Regions from separate parts of the Homo sapiens genome. Here regions 2, 3 and 4 are each linked to region 1. The links are contacts of gene promoters, found by promoter capture Hi-C in blood cells and fetal thymus (Javierre and others, 2016). All regions are on one chromosome and are shown on one strand. The core of a region is centred on a gene start or on the middle of the fragment in contact, and the rest is flanking DNA. Distances in the headings are between cores, read along the strand shown.

What was found. The method cuts DNA at HindIII sites, captures the fragments that hold promoters and counts their contacts. A CHiCAGO score of 5 or more calls a contact.
Region 2: the fragment with the promoter of RBM33 here is called in contact with the fragment with the promoter of EN2 in region 1 in 6 of 17 cell types (neutrophils, monocytes, fetal thymus and 3 more); the score reaches 24.8 in neutrophils.
Region 3: a fragment that was not itself captured here is called in contact with the fragment with the promoter of EN2 in region 1 in 1 of 17 cell types (neutrophils); the score reaches 5.0 in neutrophils.
Region 4: a fragment that was not itself captured here is called in contact with the fragment with the promoter of EN2 in region 1 in 1 of 17 cell types (neutrophils); the score reaches 5.2 in neutrophils.

What each region holds. Positions count from the first base shown.
Region 1 is chr7:155,455,720-155,459,623 of GRCh38, reverse strand. It overlaps EN2 (engrailed homeobox 2), which reads right to left and starts at 1,495. Exons shown (of 2, transcript NM_001427.4): 1 at 562-1,495. The coding sequence starts at 1,246. EN2-DT (EN2 divergent transcript) reads left to right here and starts at 2,506. Exons shown (of 3, transcript NR_186580.1): 1 at 2,506-2,634. RefSeq lists an enhancer at 1,842-2,833. The HindIII fragment of the contact is 14,368 bases long and covers 1-3,904 here.
Region 2 is chr7:155,642,992-155,647,347 of GRCh38, reverse strand. It overlaps RBM33 (RNA binding motif protein 33), which reads right to left and starts at 2,687. Exons shown (of 18, transcript NM_053043.3): 1 at 2,429-2,687. The coding sequence starts at 2,471. RBM33-DT (RBM33 divergent transcript) reads left to right here and starts at 2,942. Exons shown (of 3, transcript NR_126344.1): 1 at 2,942-3,134; 2 at 3,744-3,880. RefSeq lists a silencer at 2,360-2,869 and an enhancer at 2,794-3,748. The HindIII fragment of the contact is 4,649 bases long and covers 1-2,939 here.
Region 3 is chr7:155,695,591-155,699,504 of GRCh38, reverse strand. The region is part of intron 5 of RBM33 (RNA binding motif protein 33); the gene reads right to left. Among named protein-coding and RNA genes, the nearest start is that of RBM33, 53 kb to the right of the region's middle. The HindIII fragment of the contact is 7,040 bases long and covers 1-3,914 here.
Region 4 is chr7:155,678,092-155,682,385 of GRCh38, reverse strand. It overlaps RBM33 (RNA binding motif protein 33), which reads right to left. Exons shown (of 18, transcript NM_053043.3): 4 at 3,702-3,778; 5 at 1,478-1,796. Among named protein-coding and RNA genes, the nearest start is that of RBM33, 36 kb to the right of the region's middle. The HindIII fragment of the contact is 3,468 bases long and covers 601-4,068 here.

The DNA.
Region 1 (3,904 bases), core at 246-2,745:
CGCAGGCCCGAGGGGCAGAAGGCAGAGCGGCAAAGGGCCTCGCCTTTTCTTCCCCGAGCACAGCCGGGATAACCGGATGGTAGGACAAGTCTGGGGTGGGCTGGGGCATGCGTCCCCGGCCTGGCCTGAGTTGGAAGATCGTAGGGAAGGGGATGAGAGTGTGCACTTCCGGGCCCATCTTCCAGCCACCACGTTCCCACCAAAAAAAACTACAGTGGGGGAGACATGGGCTAGGGGCTGGGAAGAGATGCGCCAAGGCGGGGTGGAAGACAGAGAGGGGAGACAGGGAGAGAGGAAGGAGAGAGAGAGACAGAGAAAGAAAGAAGGTCCCTTCTGCGGTCCTAAGAAGTCTGTACCCCCTAGCGAATCAGTCCTGCCGCTGGACTCCTGGCCGCTGCCCGGGCCGGCGTCAGCTTCACACAATGTCGCGTGAGTCTTTGTGCGTGTGCGCGGGGGAGGTTCGAGATGTTTTCCTCCCGGTAAGTTCCCGCGCCAGCACCGCCCCCCAGCTCCGCGGGCCTCCCCGCGGCGAGCCGGGACGCGTGGTCCCCGCGGGCTCACCTGAAGAAGGCCGGTCCGAGTAGCGCGTACAGTAGACCCACGCCGGCCAGAGCATGGGCTGCGCGCCCAGGTTGGCGCCGGCTTGCGAGCTGTCCGAGTCCGAGCTCACCGACAGGTCGCCGCCGCCCAAGCCGCGGGCCTTGAGCGACCCGTCCAGGGGGCCGCCGGGGTCGCCGCCTTTCTTGGCGCCACCGTGCAGCGAGAGCGTCTTGGAGCCGCCTTCCCCGTCACCCGGAGAGTCGCTGCCGGCGGCTGGGAGCGGCCCGCCCGCGCCGGGCGCACATGGCGGGTTCTGCCGGGGCTCTCGGGAGCCCGAGCCCAAGAGCTGCTCCGAGCCGCCCGCGCCGCCGCCTCCCTCCGCACCGCTCGCGCCGCCTTCGCCGCCGGCTCCGCCGCCCCTTCCTCCTCCCGCGCCCGCACAGCAGGTCCCCGCGTCCTTTCGCCGGCCGAACTCGGGCCGCAGGATGTTGTCGATGAAGAAGTTGGTGATGCGGTGCGGGTGCTGGTGGTTGCCGGGCGCCTGCAGGACCGCGGGCAGCATCAGAGCCCGCCGGCGCCCGGTGTCCGCTTCGCCCGGGCTGCTACCGCCGCCGCCGCCCGAGCCGCCGCCGGGGCTGGATTCCGGCTGCCGCTGTCCCTCCACCGCCGCCGCTGCTTCGCCAGGCTTGGGGTCATTCTCCTCCATGCTGTTCACAGTAAATCCCACACTGGTTCTCCGGGGACGCCCTTCCAAATCAGCCTTCGGCCCTCCCGCGGCGCACACGGAGACCCCCGCGCCCCCACCCCGCCGAGTCTTCCGAGGGCGTGCGCGGCGGCCGCGGCCAGGGCTGAGGTCCTACAAGTCGCCGGCCGCGCTCGGCGCGGAGCCACCTTTGAATCCACGAACTGGGTTAGAAACACCACGAGCCGCCCCGCTCGCCCAGACGATGAGAGATTCAACAGAGCCAAGTCCTCGACTTCGCCGCGCAGCCGGGGTCTAGACAGTCGCAGTGGTCCGGCGGGGACGCGGGCCGCCTCCCGGGCTCCCCGCTCCTCTCCGCGTCCGGCCGCCTCGGGCTCCGGCGCCGCCGCCTGGGCCGCCCGGGGCGAGAGCTGCGCGCATGCAGGCAGCGCGTTCCCCGGCGCTCACGCCCGCCCGGGCCGGCTCCGGCCGCCGCCGCCGCCCGGCCGTCCCCGCCCGCACGCCCTAGCCGGCCCTCGAGGGTGCCGGGCGCCCGCGGTCAGCGCGCCCGCCACCGCCCGCACGCACATGGAGGCCCCCTCCTCGCGGCCGCCGCCCCGCTGCGGGCCGGGGCGCCCCACCGGCGTGCGGCCGCGCCCCCGCCGAGCCCCGCAGAGCTCCGCGGCCCGAGTCGCATGGGTGAGAGACGCGAGGCCAGGGCCCGGCCGGGCCGGGCTGGGCCGCCCGCGCTCCCCGGCCGTCCGCCGCCCTCGCCGCCTCGGCCTCCGCGCGGGCTCGGAAATTTCCAGGCCACTCGGCGCAACCTGAGACACTTTCACTCTGGATTTTTGTTCTTATTTTTAACAGAGCCCCCTCGAGTGACGTCGCAGGCCGGTCTCCTGGACACGTGCCTCGGGCCAATGGCCGCGGCGCCGCGCGCCCACGTGACGCTCCGGCCGCCGCTGGGTGACAGGAGCAGCCCGCCGCCCCTCCTCCCCTTAAAGCGGCCGCGTCCCCCGCTCCGGGTGCGGGAGCCCAGGAACCCGGAGAGACCCCCGACCGCGTCTCCTGCGCTCGCCCGCGCTTTCCCTGTCGCTTCGCGGTTCAGGGGTGTGAGTCACCCGGCGACAGCCCCGCCAGGTCACCCCGGGGCGCGTAGGTGGACACGCACAGGAAGATCGCTATTTTTAAGATTTCCATATTGTTTACCGTGGGGCGAAATCCCACAATTCCTTGCACAAAATGCATAAATAATATTAAATGAGCTGCCGAGATACAAAGGGACTTTTGTGGTCCGCTTTCCTTGCTGATGGAGAGGAATAGTGTCACTCCCATTTGACTCGGTAACCCGGCAGCTTCCTGTCTTAAACGCAGAGCTGGCGCGCAGGACACTCCTCCTGCAGACACTTATTGTAAGTGTGCGTGTGTGTGCGTGTGCAGGGAGGCGCGTGCATACGGCCGCATTCCACCCGGGGACAGCGACCCTCATGAAACATGCTTAGCGATCCGAAAGAGCGGGGGAATGCAGTATGCGGCTCCATTTGCGAAGGGAGAAATCCAGGAGCCTCGGAGGTTCTAAAGGAATCCTTTTTGCCAAGGAGAGGAGGGGTGACTGTTCAGCTAAGACTTCAAAACCAAGTCGCCCGCCCCCCTCTAACTTCTCTACTCTGATTGAGGAGCTCCCAGACCGGTCATCTCGTTTTCTTTGTTTTAAAATCCTTTAAACTAATTTTGCCGGAGAGCAGGGCCCATTTGAAACGAGAATTAGGAATCCAACGGCAAGGGTGGGAGCCCCAGTTGGTTTCTCCCCTCCTCTCTCTTCATCTTTTCTAGACTTTCCTTCCAGCTGTTGTCAGAATGTCCAACTGGAAGTTCTGTTTCCTCTTCTCTTCCCCCTCCTCCCTCGGGCTCCTTCCCATTTGCTCTTGTCTACCCACCAAACACCCGTTGTTACCCCAGGCTCGCCTGTCCATCATTTAAAATGCATTTTTATGGAAATGTGTGAATTCCTGGAAACATCCGATAGGGCAGCTCTGGGGGTGCGGGAGCATTTGCACGCCATGAGTACCCTCAGTGCGGGGGAGGCGGGGAGGCCGCAGCCTGGCACGGACACCCTAGGGCTGATTGGCCCTGGGCAGCTGCACCGTGCTCAGCAACCCAGACCCCCGCAGAGGCAGCCAGCAGGTTGCTGCCAGGCCCTGAGTGAACTTGGGGAGTCTGGCAAGCATCTCCGAGGCAGCGTGGCCTGCCAGGCCACCTGGGGCCTGAAGGTTGCACCCTGGCCTTGCGAAGCTCCTTCCCCAGTGTCCATCCCACGTGCTGTCCTTCCCCTGCAGGCTTCAGAGTGCTGGCTGGGCTGGGATGAGAAACGACAGTTCCCACAGCTGCTCCCAGGAAAATTACCCCCCCACCCAGGACGGGAATGGTGGGGGAGGAGGTGCTGGGCTGGCCTCCTGGCCACTGGACGTGGCTCTGGTCAGAGTGTGCCCTCTGTCCGGTGTGTCTAGGGCAGGGTGGGGAAGCCTCTTCTCGCTGGGGCTGGATTCCTCCACTTTTTCTTCATTGGAGGAGTCCTTACCAAATGTTCTGGCTAGGCACACATCTGCCAGGGGTCCTCCCCGAGTCTCAAAAAATCAAACCCCACAGTCTACCTGCCCCCCGGGAAAATAGGGCTGGTGAGAG
Region 2 (4,356 bases), core at 1,438-3,937, 190 kb before region 1:
AATACTAACCACTTACTATACAAGAGACCAGTGATTTTCAAACTGACAATCTCGAACATTTTGTAGGTTGTGAAATTAATCCAGGTCACAACCAGCATTTTACTGTAATGAAATAGAAAACATTAGAGTGCATGGCATAGTATGGACCAGTATTGTTCATGAAATTTTTTTTAACTTTTATGTATGTACTAAATCACAATGTCAATCACATTTCTGTGGCTGCCATTTTAAGAAGTTTGAAAGTCACTGTGCTAGACAATATGCTAAACTGAGCTGCCAAATAAGCTATCGATAGCTCAATAAGGTATTACCAATGTAAATATTTCTCCAAGCTAACATGATTTAATCAGTTACACAGGTAAATCACGTGGAAATGACTAACATAACTTAGCATACAATTATATTATTTCCTATTCGTAAAGAAAACATTTCATCCTTTAATTCATTCACCAAATGTTTGTTGAACACATGCTATGTGCCAGGAACACGTGGAACGCATGGTAAAACAGGTAGCATTTTTGTCCTCATGAGGTTTACAGGCTACTGTGGGAGGCAGATTTAAAAAACAAGTAAAAACTGAAGAAAATTACAAATTAAGATAAACGTTCTGAAGAAAACAAACAAAGGTGCTAGAGAATGAAGACAAGAGAGGCACAAGAGCAACGGACATACATTCCTCAGATACAATGAATTCTCAAGGAAAGCCTCCCTTAAAAGCGTGAGATCCACTGGATCAGGAGTCAGCCCTGGCAAGAGCGGGTACAGGAGCAGTCCATGCGATGAACTTCCAGGATAAAGGAAGCAATCACACAACATGCTGGTGGGGTAGGCAGGGACCAAGTCATACAGAACTCACAAATCTTGGCAAGGAGTTTGGTATGAAGAGCAAAGGAAACTTTGGCACTTGTGACAAAATGGAAGGAAAAACTCCAAAGCATCATGAATAAAGCCTACTTATTCTTCTAAAATAGCAATTCTCAAAACTTCTGACCTCAAAATTATTGAAGACCCAAAAATGCCTGTTTATCTGGATTACATTCAGTGATATTACTATTTTAGAAATTTAAAATGAGAAACGTAAAAGAATACACAAGCATATATTCCATTAGCCATCAGCATAACGTCTTCACATGTTATTCAGCCTCTAGAAAACTCCACTGTACACTACTGAAAGAAAAGAGAAAAAATACAAATAACACCTTAGTCTTTCTAATGAAAAGAGTGTTCACCCAAGAGTTCCCAGGTTACACTGGGAATGCTATAAAACAAGTAATTCTGACCCCCAGAAAGATAGGTGAACTATACATTTTAAAATTTTAATTAGTCTCAGATGTAACACGCAAACATCATGTATTTAAACTGAAAGAAAAGTGGCATATAGCAAACCAAATTGCCAGAAGCGACATTCCTACACTTAGTCTTTTTTGTTTTTCCATTTTGTCAGGCAAACGTTTTGACAGTTGGGCCAAAATTCCTAAACAGGATGATAACAACGTAACCATCTGCTAGCATTTACTAAAAAATACTTCTCGAGTATACACTAGACTGGCTTTTCAACGTTTCAATGGTAAGAACTAATCCCAAATGCTTTTGTTATCCATATTTTACCATCTTTTCAAAGTTTTCAAAATAATCACTTAAAAAGTCACTTTCAAGTATCTCTCCACGTTTTTAAAACCCCCAGTGATATGTAATTTTACCTGAAAGTAATTTACCTACAATTTTTTAGAGATAGGTGTTTCATCAATACTGTTTATGCTTGCAAACAAGAAAAACTATCCAAAGGAACTGACTCAGTATCTAAACCTTTTGTGTCACGTTTTCACTTTTGGAAGACGCACATAAAACACTAACAGGTTATTAGACAACAAATAAGTTAATTTAAAACAGGGATTTATTGAGACTTTCTCAAGAAATCTCACTTTCCAAACTGGCCTACTGTCGCACATTCCTTCACACAGGTGAATCTTTTCGTTATGTTTTTGTAATGGGCTTCAAATCAATCTAAATCTGTCAGGATGGCCCCACAATCTTAAACACCCACCCTACAGCGACCTGCCCCGCTCTCCCTAAGTGACACTGTCTCGGGGGGTGGGGGGGGCGCTCTCCTACCCATAGGACACCAGGCCGGCTTCGGCACTTAATGCCCGCCAACGCCAGAGATGGGCCTGACACTTAGGCAGCCTTGCAAAGTAGAGGACACACAGAAGTTCACAGGTAAGTACGATCTGCACAGCGGAGAGGAGGAGCGAGAAAGGGAGAATGACAATAGCGAGGGAAGGCGAGGGAGAAAACGGAATAGGCCGAACACAAAGAGAGTCGGAGCCGGGGAGAGCCTCGTCCTCTCCTAAGCGGGGAGGCCCCCCGGCCTACACCCCCGCCCACCGCGGCGCGGTCCTGGCCCCCAGAGTCCGGCTGCCTCACGTACCTCCGGCGCCTGCTCCTCCGCTCGCTCCCAGGGCGGCCGCCATGGCACTCGCGGGGCCCGGCCTTCAGCCTCCCCCACCAAGCCAGCTGGTGGGCCGACGTGCCTGGTCCGGGCCCGGGTACGGGTGACGGAGGACAGAGAAGGGAGGGGGCTGCAGGAGGCAGAGGCGAAGCCGGGCGCTTCGCGGTCCACAGCTGGCCCTTCGCCTCCGCAGGAAGAAAACAACAAACTACCGCAACATGGCCGCGCGCCCGCGCCCGCCGCGGTGCACCCTGGGATGATGGAGGCCGGGAGGCGGGCGGGCGCCGGGGCCTGCCCCCGCCGAGGCCGCAGCAGCCCTGAGGCCGCCGCCGTGTTTCGGGCGGTGGGCGTGCAACGCAAACACGCGGCAGTCACCTCCGCCCGGCTCCTGAAACCCAAATGTTTGAAGCAGGGCGGGGACGACTGCTGGCCATAGGTCGATTCCGGGTTCAGTCGTAAGGCGCTTTGCAGCAGTCGGCAAAGCGAAGCTTTACGGCAGCCCGTCTCCCGTTAGGAGCCGGGGAGGCAAGGTCCAGCGTACGGTCCGGGGGAACCTTAACTGTCGTTTCTGTGCCTGGACAGTAGGTTGGAGAGTGGGGTCTGAATGAGCTACAGTAGTGAACGCCGACGGCTTGTGTTGAGGGCAGGAAAGGGTGCACACAGCTCCGGCAGGTGCTTCCGCGAGGTGAGATGAGTGCCGCGCGCGCCGGGCTAACGTGCACGCGCACTCGTGCGGCGCCCGCGAGCCCTCACTTCCTACAACCCGAGACCCTCCGGACCCGCGACCCCGGACCCCCGTCCCCTTCTCCGCGCCCGGCTGGGCAGCGGGCAGCGCCGGACCCTGATGGGCTCTCGGCCCTTACTGCCCCTGCGCCTTGCGGCCCTGAGAACAAGACGTGAGCAGGACGGATAGCGCCCGGCACTCATGTCTGAGTTTGCATTTTGAGCAGTGAGAAAGGTTAAGAAACGAAATCCTCATACTTGACATAAAGGAAAGGGTGCTGGGTGGTCAGACAGCTGTGGACGAAAGGGCTCAGGGGTTTTGGGGTGTGGGGCCCGGGAAGGCGCATCTGAGTGGTCGCAGTCGGGGAAGGGGGTTGATTAAGTACACACCGGCTGTAAACATTGATTCCATATCGGTCAATGTGGGGCTTAGGTGAGGCGTTCTGACCCAGCAATGAAACTGGAAAGGTAGGCAGGGGCCAGGATTCCGGACTTTGGGACGTTTTTCTGAGTCTATGGGGTCTATTGAAAGATTTTAGAAACAATTTACATGGTAAGATTTGTATTTTAGAAAGGTGACTGATACAACAACGTAGAGGACCCTGCAATGTGGAGAGGCATGAAACTGGAGGTCCAGTGCCGTGAGTTAACAATCAAGACGTCCATACAGGAGATGCATTGGTGGATGGGTGAAGAGATGATAAAACGGTACGTATAATAAAATGCTGGCCGGGCGCGGTGGCTCACGCCTGTAATCCCACCACTTTGGGAGGCTGAGGTGGGTGGATCACGAGGTCAGGAGTTTGAGACCAGCCTGACCAACATGGTGAAACCCCGTCTCTACTAAAAATACAAAAATTAGTTGGGCGTGGTGGCACGCGCCTGTAATCCCAGCTACTCAGGAGGCTGAGGCAGGAGAATTGCTTGAATCGAGGAGGCGGAGGTTGCAGTGAGCCGAGATTGCGCCACGGCAATCCAGCCTGGGTGACAGAGCGAGATTCTGTCTCAAAAAAAAACAAAAAAATTATTCAACTGTGAGAACTCACTCCCCAAAAAAAATGTTTTGCAAGCAACTCATTGAAAAATGGTCTCTATTAAAAAGCACGTTAATACATCCATATTTAAATGGCTTGAACTCTTTATCACCTTTCATTATTTTTTGAACTGTGGAGGATGGCATGCCT
Region 3 (3,914 bases), core at 323-2,822, 240 kb before region 1:
TTTGAAATCAGAATGGATGCCTGCAAGGTACGTGCTGCACCACACTTCCCAACAGAACCAAAGCCAGCTTCCTTAGGACGTCTATTCTCCGCTCCCATGATGCTCTAGAGCAGCACTTCTCCAATTCAATGCCCAGTCATCAGTGGGAATCATGTTGAAAAGCAGATTCTGACTCAGCCGATTCAGGATGGGGCCTGGGGTTCTGCATTTCTAACAAGCTCCCAGGTGACGCCAACATTTCAGGTCCACAGACTACACTGAGTAGAGTAGCAAGTCCAAAAGGGAGGAAAAGAAATCACTACCAACAAAGCAAAGATTCTACAAAGTCATCTTCAATTCAACTATTAACAACTGTAAGCACAGTTCAAAGACTTTCCAAACAAGTTTAATGTAAAACAAGACAGCACGGAAATTAATATAGCTTATTCTGCATCCAAATCTCCATCTAAGAAATCTAAAGAGGATAAAGATGAGTTGAAAATTGTTTCTTCCTAGATATTTACCCTAGAGAAATGATACCTTATGTTCAAATAGACCTATAGGAAAATGTTTATTCTATTCAGGATCACTACAACTGGAAACACTTAAATGTCCTTCAATGAATGAATGGATAAACTCTTGTACATCCAAACCACAGAATGCTACTTCGCAATAGGTCTATTGACATAACAGGGATAAAACCATAAAGGCATCATTATACTGAGTAAAACAAGTCAATCTCAAAGGGTTATACACTGCAATGATTCCATTTATATGATATTCTCCAAGGAACAAAATTACACTGGTAACCAGTGGTTAGGAAAGAAGGAAAGGTATGGCCACAAAAGGATAGCACAAGGAATATTTTTGAGTGATGGAACCATCCTAGAATGCAAACTTCTGGTCCAAATCTTGGGGCTCAGTTAATCCTTGAACTACATCAAAGATTAGGGAAACTAACCTGACAAACCACCAAACACGGCTGATAGCACTTGCTTAACTGCAGCCCATTTGACAACATCCACTAAGCTAGACTTAATTCTTCAGCCTCTTATTCTAAATATGGGGCTTAAAAAATCCATCCCCCTTCACCATATGGTTTAGAAAACTAACCTGTCTACCAAAACGTTGACCTCCTGTATAATTTTTTTTTTTCCCTGAGATGGAGTCTTGCTCTGTTGCCCAGGCTGGAGTGCAGTGGTGCGATCTCAGCTCACGACAACCTCTGCCTCCCAGGTTCAAGCAATTCTCCTGCTTCAGCCTCCCGAGTAGCTGAGATCACAGGCGTCCACCACCACGCCAGGCTAATTTTTGTATTTTTAGTAGAGACGGGGTATCACCATGTTGGTCAGGCTGGTCTCAAAATCCTGACCTCGTGATCTACCGACCTCGGCCTCCCAGAGTGCTGGGATTACAGGCCTGAGCCACCACGCCTGGCCTTCTGTATAATTTTTAACAAATATTACCTAGCATGCCATTGACAAGCTACATTCCACTGATGGGTAGTGTGCTGCTACAACATAAAAATCAAACTATCCTAAGATTATGTTGTGTAAACATTTAAATGTGCATGTAAATCTTTCATTTCACTATAGACATTGACAAAAATAGTCAAAGGTTTGATTTTTAGTTACTGATTTATTGTGAAAACCTGAAAGATTTATTTTTAATCCTTAATACAGACTGCATATGAAAATCACCATCAAAGTACTTAAAAAAACAGAGAGGTCCACTTAGGCTTTATTTCGTAAATGTAGAAAGAACTGGAAAAGCAAAGAGGGAAAAATACTCAGACTTGTATATATTTTGAAGTTCTCCAGCTAATTCTGAAATGAAAGTATGATCTCAGTGTTCTGAAAGAAAATTCAATATTCTATCCCAAAATCTAAACAGAAACAATGGGTAGTTCTCTGAAACACATACACCACACACACACACACACAAATCTATATATATAGAGAGAGAGAGAGTGCAAAAGAGAAAACATTGCTTACAAAAAGCTCACTAAGTTTTTAATGCTTATTGATAGAATTATTGATACATCATCAAATAAAAATGAAAGTCATTCTACCAACAGTGAAAATTTATGGGTTGGAAAGACTAAGCAAACTGTGCAAAAATTAGAAGAAAAAGAATTACAGACCAGTGTCCTTCATTAATACAGAAACAAAATCTTTTTTAAAAGTAAAAGTACACGGAATCTCACCAAATATAAAAAGGATAATACATCACAACCAAGTGGGGTTTATCCAGAAACATGACGTTAACACTCAAAAATCAGTCAAATCTTACCTGAAGAATTCCAAATCTATGGAGATACTCCTCCTCCTCCTCCTCCAGGAGGTGGGGCTTAAGTTGCTTTCCTCCCCTCTCCCCAGAACCCCATCCCTTAAGGTAGCCTACACTTAGTGACTTGTTTCCAAAGAACTGAATAAGGAAAGAGAAAGCAACATTACAATGAAGAAAACTGGCAGACACTGCTTGACCCAAATGACCAAGGTGGGCATTGCCAGGGGCGTTGTGGATGTCATGCGCCCAGTGGCACAAGGGTTCCATAGTGTTCTTTCCAAAATCCACAACCTCAAGCTAATCATGAAAAAAGCGTCAAACAAACTGAGATTGGGAGACATCATACAGCATACTCGGCCAGCACTTCCTAAAGCTGTCAAGGTCATGAAATACAGGGAAACACTAAGAAACTGTCACACAACAAAGGGGAATGGAGAGACAACGATGGGTTATGTGGCTTGGGTCCTAGACCAGTGAGAGGTCATGAAGAGAAAAACCAGTCAAATGGAAATAAAATCTGGAACATGGTTCATCATTTTTTTAAGTTAATTTAATTCACAATAAGGAATAAAAGCCATATAATTATCTCAATAGATGCAAAAAAGAAGCATCAACAAAATTCAATACCCATTTCTGATTTTTAAGAAAATCCCAGCAAACTCAAAATAGAAAAGACCTTCTTCAATCTGATATAAAAACGTACAGCTAGCATACTTAATGATGAAATAAACATTTTCCCCCTAACATCAGGAATAGGTAAGAATGTCTGTCCTGAATGTTTCTAGTCACAGAGTACCGGAGGTCAATGATACAAAAGAAAGAAAGAAATGGATATAGATTGAAAAGGAAGAATTTTAAAACTGTCATTATTAACAGGCAATATGATTATTAAGATGTTAGTGTCTCCCAATATGATTTAAAAACACTATCCATTCTCTATCAAAATCCTAACCAGACTTTTAAGTAGTTATTCACAAGTCCGTTCCACAATTTATACAGAAATTCAAAGGACCATGAATAGCCAAAATAATTAAAGGAAGAATAAAATTAGTGGATTTACACAACATGCTTTCATGTTACAGTAATCAAGACTGTATAGTACTGATATAGGGATACAAAAACAACAGAAACAACAGAAACAACAGAAAAGAGAACCAGAAAGAGACTAAAACCTAATTTTATTGTCAGGACAAGCACTGTGGCACTCCAAAGGGAAAGGAAAGTCATTACAACAAATAGTGGTGAACAATTAGAAAAACGTATGGAAAAAACGGAATCTCATACCACACACACACACACACGTGCGCACATATTGAGATAGATCATAATCTTAACTAAAATTAATACTGTAAAGTGTCCAGAAGAAAACAAGATAACAACTTTGGAGTAAACAAAGATTTCTTAGGTCACAAAATTCTTCATACTTCAACAAAATTAAAATTTTCTGCTCATGAAAAGACATATTTAAGAAAATGAGGCCAGGCATGGTAGCTCACGCCTATAATCCCGGCACTTTGGGAGGCCAAGGCGGGCAGATCACTTGAGGTCAGGAGTTCAAGACCAGCTTGGCCAACGTGGTGAAACCCTGTCTCTACCAAAAATATAAAAAATTAGCCAGGTGTGGTGGTACGTGCCTGTAATCCCAG
Region 4 (4,294 bases), core at 1,085-3,584, 220 kb before region 1:
AGCGAAGGATTACTAGAACAAATTATTACAGGGTTATGGAAATAACAAGTTCCCCATGATGCCTTTTACATGATTCTATTTACCAAAACTACAAACATCTCTCATTACTGTATCTACCAAAGAGCAAATATTAACCAAAAAAAATTAAATCTTAAAACTATTGAGGGCCAGGCACCGAGGCTCATGCCTGTAATCCCAGCACTTTGGGAGGACGAGGCGGGCGGATAACTTGAGGTCAAGAGTTCGAGATCAGCTTGGGCAACATGGGGAAACCCCATCTCTACAAAAAATACAAAAATCAGCCAGGCGTGATGGTGGGCGCCTGTAATCTCAGCTACTCAGGAGGCTGAGGCAGGAGAATTGTTTGAACCCAGAAGGTGGAGGTTGCAGTGAGTGGAGATCGCACCACTGCACTCCAGCCTGGGCGACAAACCAAGAGTCCGTCTAGAAAAAAAAAAAAACTACTGAGACACCTAAATACAATCATGACTGGAACTAAATATTCAAAGGTTCCACATAAACAATTAATCCTTTTCAAAATTACTCATACACATGACCACAATTCAGCAACTTCTAAACTATTTTTTTGAAACAAAAGCTTCCTCCGAATGAAGATGTAAATACAGAAAAGCAAAGCTACTCCCATTGCAAATGGGCTCTTTAAGGCCCCAATTTTGCATACTTCTGTCACCATCCCAACAGCCCCATTCACTCGGCCCCCATAGTGTTCCCAAAAACCCTAAGATTCTACTACAGCTACTGAGATCACATCCTTCCCTCATAAATTTCGTTACATGCTTATTTTAAAAAACAAATCTCTTTTGATAATGAGTCATTTAAAGGTGAGAATCTTACACTAGTACATTTTTTCTTTCTTGTTGGTTCAACTTTGAAAAAAAAAAACTACCTACCAAAATCATCTTTCTGAAATAAAAAATCAGCACAATCTTGCTTCCTGATTATAGATAACGAATTATATGTGACATTTCCTAAACTAACCTCCAATCTCTTTATTCAGGTTTAGACAGTTCTCATCTACAAAAAGGATGAATGAACAGGACATCAATCACTCTGGAATATTAGCACCTTAAAGATGTCTTTAGCAGGTCAATAATCTTTTCGCCTTAGAAGGACTTTATCAGATCTTGTCTAAAGCCAGGATAAAAGCTCTGCATTAAGTACTCCTAACAATTGACAGTGTATCCCCACCACACAAAGCTGTTTTCTTCCTTAGGGTACAATCCTCAAGGTCACGATTCTTTGCAGCCTTCCAGAATGACAAAGGAGCATTACCTCTGGTCAAACAAGCTGTCAACACAAACTTTGTCATAGCTCAGATAAAGAAACTGGCAGAGAGTGATAATAAGGTCTAATTTCCCCTCCCTCCCAGGGGAGGTAAATAGATTTCAAATCAGTCTAGAAGCCTATGCATGGGAAGCCAGGTTATCTTTGGCCATACAAAGGAGAAAAGACTCACTGTAAATTCATCTAAAGGTTCATTGATCTCGATGTCTAACACTTCATCAGTGTAAAGCTGCTCCTCCTCTGGCTCTTCCACATATTCTATTTGGTCTTCTGTCAACTCAGCTTCGTGGCCTTCATACTGTCCTTCTTCTGGGTACTCTTGAGTATACAATTCTGATCCATCAGATTTGTGATAAACCAGTTCATCCTCTCCTTGTTCTTGTTCATACTCAGATTCCTGTTCTCCAGATTGGTCGTTAGTGTTGTCAGAGAGTTCAAATGATGTAACCATGCCAGATGTAGCATTCAGACTAATTGTAACACCCTGAGAACTAGAGAGGACGAAAATAAAAAAAAAAAGCACCCAATGAAGAGAGGAGCTCAAACTAAATCATTATATAAATAGCTGTTACAAAGATTTAAACCATGACTGATAAAAAGTTATTCCAGTTACTGACAAATGCACATTAACTCCAACAGTACTCAAAATGCTATACAGAGCCAGTGCCCTAAACCCTTAATGCGTACAGCAGAGCTAACTGTGCTATATGGAGCCGGCCACAGACTGGCAATGCATATAGCCCCTCTACTTATCACCAGCTGCAGGTTATTTGACCAAATGAATTAAATCAACCACAGATGAAACACATCTGAGTGGCAAAAGTCCAAGACTGAAATCAAATAGCCTATATTTCATTCTAATTTACAAAATGAAATAGACAGAAACTGCTAAGAGTTCAAAGTAAAAACAGGAGTATTATTCTATAAGGAGAAAATCAGAATCGGAATTTTAAGAACAATTTTTTTCTTACATCTGTGATAGAAATTATAAACTCCTGTTTAAGAAAATCAAAATATTAAAAATTTGTGTGAAAATACATTTCAGTGTTCAAATAAATAAATTTATATTAGTCACAAATATCTTTAAAAATTGTTCATAATTTCTAAGTAAAATAACAAAGGTTTTGAAACTGCAAAAAAAACATGTTCCACCTATTAAATCACAACAGTTAAATACCAAACAATAAGGTGCAAGATAACATTTCCCATGTAAGATCGTGCAAATCTGTGTTCACACATAGCACTCAATCCTAACAAAAAATTAATACACCTCTTAGACTTCAAGATACTGTGTCTAAAAAACTTCAATGATGTATTTCTAAAAGACAATCTAACTCAAAAGATTAAAATATAACAGTGATGTCAAAGAATGGAATTGGGAAATTTATCTGACTGGTAGAATAATTTAAAACTTATTTTTACCTGTAAAAATTACTTTATGTTAGAAAATCTGTTACAAATCCATGGCTCAATAATAAATGGCATATATTTGTTAATTACATTTATAACAAGAGCTTGTCTACATTTTCCCGATGTTTCCTCATAAAATAAAAACTATTATTCCACCTACCAGTGTGTCTCTCCTCTTTTAATATAGCTTACTATATGTCAACAGAAAGACATTCATCGTATCAGTCAACTAGAGTCTAAAGTAGCACCTCCCAAAGTGCCCAAAATGGTAATTCAGTAAATGATCTAAATCAACTGGCTAAAATGAAGACAAATGCAGCAGTATCGAACTGCAATGGTGTTGAGAGTCCCAAGCCACTGCCCTCCATCCGAGTAGAGGAATTCTTTAGAAAAGCAGCATATATCCATACTAAATCTTCATAACCTGCACTGAACAGAACTCACAGGGATCATTAAATGAAAGACCTACTGATTTTTTGTTTTTTGTTTTTTTTTTTTTAAGACGGCGTTTCACTCTGTCTCCCAGGCTGGAGTGCAGTGGCACAATCTCGGCTCACTGCAACCTCCACCTCTGTGGATCAAGCAATTCTCCTGCTTCAGCCCTCCAAGTAGCTGGGACTATAGGCGCGGGCCACTACGCCTGGCTAATTTTTGTATTTTTAGTAGAGACAGGGTTTCACCATGTTAACCAGGCTGGTCTCAAACTCCTGACCTCAAGTGATCCACCTGCCTCAGCCTCCCAAAGTGCTGGGTTTATAGGCACGAGCTACAACGCCTGGCCAAGAACTGCTTATTTTAAACAGCTGCTCTGTTTACAGAACATCCATATGGCTTCTACAGTTATTACTAGTATTCCATTTAGAATGTAATCATGTGTTAAAGATATAAGGCTACATTATTCAATTACATTCCATTATAATTATAAATAACAGTTCCTATCAATTTAGTTAAATAAAGAACATTTATAATGAGGTAATATTGAGTACCTGAAATTTTCTTCATCTTCATTATCACTCTGCAAAAGATCATCATTTAGCTCTTCATCTGACAAATCCGACTGATTCTAATTAAAATAAGAAATATAATTAATGTGTGTCACTTCCATAAAAAGACTTGTTAAAAAGCACAAAATTACACTGACTGAATTGTTCCTAGCCTTATATTAAAACGTTTGCCACCCGGAAGGCTTTCTGGTCACCAGTGGATAATCAAGAAATCCCACACAAGGCATGTGGATCCCTCCTGGGCTCAGCTTCAGGTGCCCAGGCAAGTTAAATGTAAAAACACCAAGTGTAACGATCACATTTATTCTCACACAAAAGAGAAAAGGTAAGAAGTCCATTGGTGGAAGCTTACGAACAAATAATATTTCCTTATAATACACAAAAAAAGAAAGATATCCTTAAGGTACTACTAAATTTAACATGCTAATATCCAAAACCTAAAGATTTTTTAAACAACACAAAAAGTGTAATTTTAGAAATAAGATTTAAATAACTGAATCATTAAATTGAAATGAGACTATAAAACTTTGGTTTTTCCAGTACAGATCACGTATGAAAATAAATGTTAGCAGCTC